Regions from separate parts of the Homo sapiens genome. Here region 2 is linked to region 1. The links are contacts of gene promoters, found by promoter capture Hi-C in human tissues and cell types (Jung and others, 2019). All regions are on one chromosome and are shown on one strand. The core of a region is centred on a gene start or on the middle of the fragment in contact, and the rest is flanking DNA. Distances in the headings are between cores, read along the strand shown.

Region 1 (3,601 bases), core at 43-2,542:
ACAACTTCACACTCTCAGCCAACTGCCAACTACAGAATCCCTCAACCACCTGTGCCTTCTAAGCCCCGCTTCTACGTGTCCTGCCCTGTCAGCCTTCCATGCCTTGATTGATCTTTTCCCTGCAATTCCTGTCTCGCTGAAATGAATAAAACCAAACTGCCATCGAACCTCCTGGGGACCACTTACTCGAGGCTACATGCGGTTGTTTCCCTTGGTCACGTTCTCTCATATTCGGCGTAGAACATAGTTCAAGTTATTTTGCAGAGTTTTGCTCTTTCCGTTATCAAACTGCAAGCCATGACTGGGTGTTTCTCATTCAGGAAACATTTCTCATTCATTTTTTTCAAACTCCTATTCTGAGAAGCAAAACTCTTTAATTTTTAAGAGGACTCAGTTTAGTTTGTTGCTGTTGTTTTTGTTTTGTTTTGTTTGAGACAGGGTCTCGCTCAGTCGCCCAGGCTGGAGTGCAGTGGCGCGATCTCGGCTCACTGCAGTCCCAATCTCCTCCCTCAAGCGATCCTCCCACCTCAGCCCCCCAGTAGCTGGGATTACAGGTGGGCGGCACCACGCCCGGCTCATTTTTTAAAAATTTATTTTTAATAGAAACTAGGGTCTCGGTATGTTGCCTAGGCTGGTCTCGAATTTCTGGGCTGAAGCAATCCCCCCGCCTCAACCTGCCAGGCGTGACCCACTGCGCCTGGCCTTCAATTTAGTTTTTCAGGAAAAAAGGGGGGACTGGGGACCCCGCAGCCCACCGCTCCTCCCACACGAACCACACACCCGAGGCAGGATTGCCTCCATGACCCTCCCGTGGTCTCCGCACAATCTGGGGAGACGCGGGACTACGGGCGCGGAGCTCCCCAGAGAGGGCTCCGGGGCCGGGGCCAGGGCCGGGGTCGCAGTCGCAGCGCAGAGACGGGACAGGACGCCTGGGGTCCCGGCTGCCGGCCCAACCCCACCCTGCGGCCGAAGGGACCGAGGGCCGAGCTACGCCAGGGGGACTCCGCTCTGCAGACCCGAAGTCGCTGCAGGAAGGCCTGGGTCCTGCTAGAGCCGGTTCGAGCCGGTTCCTCCCGGCCCCTCCCCCGTCTCGGGACCCCCGGCCCCGCACACTCACCATTTCCCGGCTTCCAGGTGTCCTGGCCTCCTCTCCACGGATCCCTCTAACAGTCCAGTCACAGTGCGGGCGATGGAGCGACAGAAGCTATGGCGGAGGCACCTGGTCCCTCTCGGGGCCGGAAAACCGAGATCCCGACCTCCCTTTGGTGCAAGACGCCTGGGAGTCAGGAAAGCGGGAATGCGGCCTCCCCTTCCCCGGATGGACAGTTGGCAGGACCCCGCCCCAGCGCCCCTGATTGGATGAGGCTCCAGTCCCCGTCCCATCGGTCCTGAGTGACAGCGGAAGCCCTGGGTAACAAGGCCCGGCAGAACCGAAATGACCTGTTCCAACCACAGATTATCTAAGCGAGCTCCCTCCCTGCGTCTTGCTCTTTGGGTATTTGCATTTCAGCCAAATTTGCTCCGAATTGCTAGAGGGGGTACCGTTGTCTTCCTCACTCAATGGGCTGTCCCTGCTCCTTTGTCTTGCACAGGAAATTCCAGACTCAGAGTCCAGTGGAGGTGAAGGAAATTAAAATATTTTACGCCAAAATATATTTATTTGACAGATTTTGAAATGGCTGTGGCTCGGCCGCAAAAAAAAGTGGACTGGCAAAGCTGTCTTTGGAGGGGGGGAATTTGCATCTGCAGAGAATCTCCATTGATGAAACCATGCCCTCTCCCCCTTTATTTCTTTCCCTTTATCCAAGCTAGAAGAGATTGTGACCTGAACACAGGCAGGGTGCGGTGGTTCACGCCTGTAATCCTAGCACTTTGGGAGGCCAAGACTGGAGGATCCCTTAAAGTAAAGAGTTAAAGACCAACTTGGTCAACACAAGAATACCCCTGTTTTGTTGTTTTTTTTTTTTAATTTTTATTTATTAAACTTTAAGTTCTAGGGTACATGCGCACAATGTGCAGGTTTGTTACATATGTATACATGCGCCATGTTGGTGTGCTGTACCCATTAACTCGTCATTTACATTAGGTATATCTCCTAATGTTATCCCTCCCACATCCCCCCACCCTAGACCCCTGTTTTTATTATTTAAAAATCTTTACGGCCGGGAGCGGTGGCTCACGCCTATAATCCCAGCACTTTGGGAGGCCGACGCGGGCGGATCACGAGGTCAGGAAATCAAGACCATCCTGGCTAACACGGAGAAGCCCCGTCTCTACTAAAAATACAAAAAATTAGTCGGGTGCGGTGGCGGGCGCCTATAGTCCCAGCTACTCGGGAGGCTGAGGCAGGAGAATGGCGTGAACCCGGGAGGCGGAGCTTGCAGTGAGCCGAGATTGCGCCACTGCACTCCAGCCTGGGCGACAGGGCTAGACTGTCTCAAAAAAAAAAAAGAAAGAAAAAGAAAAAGAAAATCTGTGAAGGTCAGAATTAGAGCAAGACCCATTTGGGATGCCTCCTGGAGAAAGGGTTTATGAATTTTTATTTATTATTTTATTTTATTGTATTTATTATCATTTTTTTTGAGACGGAGTCTCGCTCTGTCGTCCGGGCTGGAGTGCAGTGGCGCAATCTCGGCTCACTGCAAGCTCCGCCTCCCGCCCGGGTTCATGCCATTCTCCTGCCTCAACCTCCCAAGTAGCTGGGACTACAGGCGCCTGCCACCACGCCCGGCTAATTTTTTGTATTTTTAGTAGAGACGGGGTTTCACCGTGTTAGCCAGGATTGTCTCGATCTCCTGACCTCGTGATCCGTCCGCCTCGGCTTCCCAAAGTGCTGGGATTACAGGCGTGAGCCACCGCGCCCTGCGGGTTTATGAATTTAACAGTAAATTTAGCTTAAACTGACTCAAGTCGAGAGCTTCCTGTTGGTGAAAATGAAGGTCTTAAAGGAGAGAATAATTTCTAAACTGAGGAGGGGACAGAAGGGCATTTCAAACTCCCAGATAAATCCTTAATTTTCTCTGCCTCATCATCTGGGACTGACCCGCCCTGGGGGGCTCCATTTCAGCAGTCACAGTTTGGCTTCCAAGCTTGGAAATATCATTTACCTTCTGACAGAGGGTTTTCCTTGTGAACTGTGCATGAAGCAGGCTGCTTATCTGAACTACTTCAAATGTTTGCTTTACTTTTCTTTTGATTCCTTTATAAAATATTGCTGCCGGCTGGGCGCGGTGGCTCACGCCTGTAATCCCAGCACTTTGGGAGGCCGAGGCGGGCGGATCACGAAGTCAGGAGTTCGAGACCAGCCTGACCAACATGGTGAAACCCCGTCTCTACTAAAAATACAAAAATTAGCCGGGCGTGGTGGCACACGCCTGTAATCCCAGCTACTCAGGAGGCCGAGGCAGGAGAATCGCTTGAACCCGGGAGATGGAGGTTGCAGTGAACTGAGATTGTGCCACTGAACTCCAGCTGGGCGACAGAGCGAGACTCCGTTTCAAAAAAAAAAAAACATATATATATATATATATATATATATATATATATATATATACACACACACACTTATATATGTGTTTGTATATATACACATATATGTGTA
Region 2 (3,779 bases), core at 538-3,037, 400 kb before region 1:
ATGTGGCTGAAAGTTTCTCCAAATTATCTACCTCCTTTACTTTTACAGAATCAGTCTACCATATGATATCTGTAAAAACAGAGAAGTACAATTACTACAGGTTTGTTTATAAGTGTTTTTTATATATATTAATAGGTCTTAAATTTACATTGTTGACATTATCATGCAAAGCTTAGGTGTCATGCCCTGTTTGAACATGAACGGACTGAATGCTGTGCAAGATAACTCAACTGTGGCTATCATCGGAACAGTAATATTCACGTGGGAATTCTTAGTACTGTTTTCCAAGGAAATTATTTTGCAGACACACTTAACAGCTATGTCCCATTTAAGTATGTTTTTGAAGAAAATTTTCTAAGAGTGAATAAATTTAAGCCAGGATTATTCTTTTTTATTTATTTATTTATTTATTTATTTTGCTTGTTTTAAAATTTTCCTGTCTTTTTTTTTAGACGGAGTCTTGCACTTTCGCCTGAGCTGGAGTGCAATGGCATGATCTCGACTGACTGCAACGTCCTCCTCCCGGGTACATGCGATTCTCCTGCCTCAGCCTCCTAAGTAGCTGGGACTACAGGTTCACACCACCACGCCTGGCTAATTTTTTGTATCTTTAGTAGAGACAGGGTTTCACTATGTTGGCCAGACTGGTCTCGAATTCCCGACCTCCTGAACTGCGCCCCACCCCCCCACCCTTTCAAAGTGCTGGAATTATAGGTGTGAAAAATTTCCTGTCACTTTAAGAATTATTCCAAAGACATATCTTTCTCTTCCTAGGGCAAATTACCTTAGATTTCTTCTGGGAATTTTGTACTAATCTTTAATGTTTTGGTCTTCCCATTTCATTCCTAAAATGTAGACCCAGAAGAATCACTATATATTATTATAAAATTACATTGAGGCCGGGGGCGGTGGTTCACGCATGTAATCCTAGCACTTTGGGAGGCCGAGGTGGGTGGATCGTCTGAGCTCAGGAGTTCGAGACAAGCTTGGGCAACACAGTGAAACCCCGTCTCTACTAAAAAATACAAAAAAATATTAGCCGGGCATGGCGGCGTGCGCCTGTAGTCCCAGCTACTCGGGAGGCTGAGGCAGGAGAATCAGTTGAACCCAGGAGGCAGAAGCTGCAGTGAGCCAAGATCGTGCCACTACACTCCAGCCTGGGTGACAGAGCAAGACTCCATCTCAAAAAAAAAATAATAATAAATAAAAATAAAATTATATTAAAAATGTAAGATTTTATGTAGACTGCAGTTATGGATGATTTATTCACCAAACCACAGTTGACTCTTCAACAACACAGGTTTGAACTGCATAGATCTCCTTACATACAAATTTTCTTCAGTTTCTGCTACTACTGAGACAGCAAGACCAACCCCTCCTCTTATTCAGCCTACTCAATGTGAAGACAATAAGGATGATAACATTTATGATGCTCCACTTCTACTTAATGAAATAGTAAATATAGTTTTTTCTCCTTGTGATTTTCTGATTAACATTTTTCTCTGCCTTAGTTTATTGTGAGAAAACAATATGTAATGCATATGACATATAAAATATGTGTTAATTGAATGTATATCTTACCAGTAAGGTTTCTGGTCAACAGTAGGCTATTAGTAGTCAAGTTGCGGGGGAGAAAAAAGTTATTTGAAGATTTGTGACTGCATTGAGGGCTGGTGCCCCTAATCCCTGCATTGTTCAAGGGTCAAACGTATTTCTTTTATATTCTAAATCTTTGAACAGCATTGGTGACGAAGAAACAAATATTCGTAATTGACTAAGTAAAGACATGATGTCCCCCTTACCTATACAGTCTAGGTTCCTGATGGTTTCCCGTAGCACATCTCTGTAGAGACTCTTCTATGATGGACCCAGCAAAGCCCACTCCTCCCAGGCAAAAGATCAAAGCCACATCCTCAAAGGCCACTGAGTCCTGAAACACCCGACACGTGCAGAGGAGGAAAGCTGAAACTGACAGCACTGGGAATCTGTACTCACTACATAAATGTCACATGATGCTGTGGTGTCCAAACATTTATGCAACGACACGGTAATCCAACTCTTACCCTCTTTCTAAACTCATTTTCTCCCAGAATGCAATTCTAATGCTAGAATTAAACGTGTTTGGTAAAATAACAGTCGAATTATAAAATGCCACTCCTTGGTGAGTTAAAGGAGTGACATTTATTGCCTAGATCACCCCTAATATCTATGTGTACAGGATGTTTGTAATTCCTGATGTGACAAAGTCCTCCTACCTAATGGGCAGAAGAGTTAACATCAGCTGTCCTGAGACCGCATATTGTTACAAATGCTTGCTCACAAAGTTGAACCTTTCACTATATCTAGGAACTAAATTTAGTTAGGGGGCTTCACCAACATAAGCGATAATGGAGGATGAGTGTCCCTAAACTATGTAAAAAATATGGTATCTGCTGAACTCCTATGTTCCCTCTGAGAGTTCAAACTTTTGTGATATGCTTGGCAGAGGGAGCATACCTGATCATTCACTACTAGGTTTTTTGCTTGTTTTTGTTTTTGTTTTTGTTTTTTTTGAGACAGAGTCTTGCTCTGTCTCCAGGCTGGAGTGCAGTGGCGCAATCTCGGCTCACTGCAACCTCCGCCTCCTGGGTTCAAGCGATTCTCCTGCCTCAGCCTCCCGAGTGGCTGGGATTACAGGCGCACACCACCATGCCCAGCTAATTTTTGTATTTTTAGTAGAGACAGGGTTTCACCATGTTGGCTAGGATGGTCTCGATCTCTTGACCTCGTGATCCACCCACCTCAGCCTCCCAAAGTGCTGGGATTACAGGAGTGAGCCACCGCGCCCGGCCATTCACTGCTAGGTTTGAATGTTTGTCCCCTCCAAAATGCTTGTTGAAACATAATCGCCAATGTGGCACTAATGAAAGGTGAGGCCTTTAAGAGGTGAGTAGATCTTAAGGGTTCAGACCTCATAAATAAATTAATCCATTCATGAATTCATGGCTTACTGAATTAATGAGTTATCTCAGGAGTGGGACTGATGGCCATATTAAAAAAGAAGGGAACCTGAGCTACCACATTCAGCCCATTCTCCATGTGATACCTTCAACCACCTAGAAACTCTGCACAGCCCCCATGACCAAGAAGGCTTTCACCACATGAAGCCCTCTTACTTGCTAGGTTCCAGAACTATAATAAATAATTTTTTTTGTTGTTTTTTGGCTTTTCTTTTTAGATGGACTCTTGCTTTGTTGCCCAGATGGGAGTGCAGTGGCACGATCTCGGCTCACTGCAACCTCTGCCTCCTCCTGGGTTCAAGCAATTCTCCTGTCTCAGCTTCCTTAGTAACTGGGACTACAGGTACATGCTACCACACTTGGATAATTTTTGTATTTTTAATAGAGACAGGGTTTCACTATGTTGGCCAGGCTGGAAGAAATATTGTTTTTTAAATAAATTACTCAGCTTCTACTATTCTGTTATAAGCAACAGAAAACATACTAGGATAAGCATGAAAAAACCACTCACCACTGGGTCTCTTATGAGCTTTTTTTGGTAGATAACATTTCCCACATTTTGTCACAACTTGTTACTTAAAGGATAAAGCCCATCCAATCTGAACACATTATAGGAGACTATTTGGAAGGTGGCATCTGCTTTCCTCTAGACCAAATTCAGTTAAGTATGACAAAAGACTAATGAAAGATGTCTCACTATCCCAATGGGAAACTTACGCTTTTTATTGGGTAATAACAAAGGATAATAAAGAAGGAAAAAGATTGCACATGTTCACTCCT

The links. The method cuts DNA at HindIII sites, captures the fragments that hold promoters and counts their contacts. A contact is called where the count stands out against the background at its distance.
Region 2: a contact is called between a fragment that was not itself captured here and the fragment with the promoter of ZNF625-ZNF20 in region 1, in 2 of the 25 tissues and cell types used here (IMR-90 fibroblasts and aorta).

The regions. Positions count from the first base shown.
Region 1 is chr19:12,155,439-12,159,039 of GRCh38, forward strand. It overlaps ZNF625-ZNF20 (ZNF625-ZNF20 readthrough (NMD candidate)), which reads right to left and starts at 1,293. Exons shown (of 8, transcript NR_037802.1): 1 at 1,118-1,293. ZNF625 (zinc finger protein 625) reads right to left here and starts at 1,296. Exons shown (of 4, transcript NM_145233.4): 1 at 1,118-1,296. The coding sequence starts at 1,120. RefSeq lists a silencer at 813-982 and enhancers at 959-1,650, 1,213-1,322. The HindIII fragment of the contact is 11,402 bases long and covers 1-3,601 here.
Region 2 is chr19:11,758,004-11,761,782 of GRCh38, forward strand. No RefSeq gene overlaps it. Among named protein-coding and RNA genes, the nearest start is that of ZNF441, 7.1 kb to the right of the region's middle. The HindIII fragment of the contact is 5,499 bases long and covers 1-3,779 here.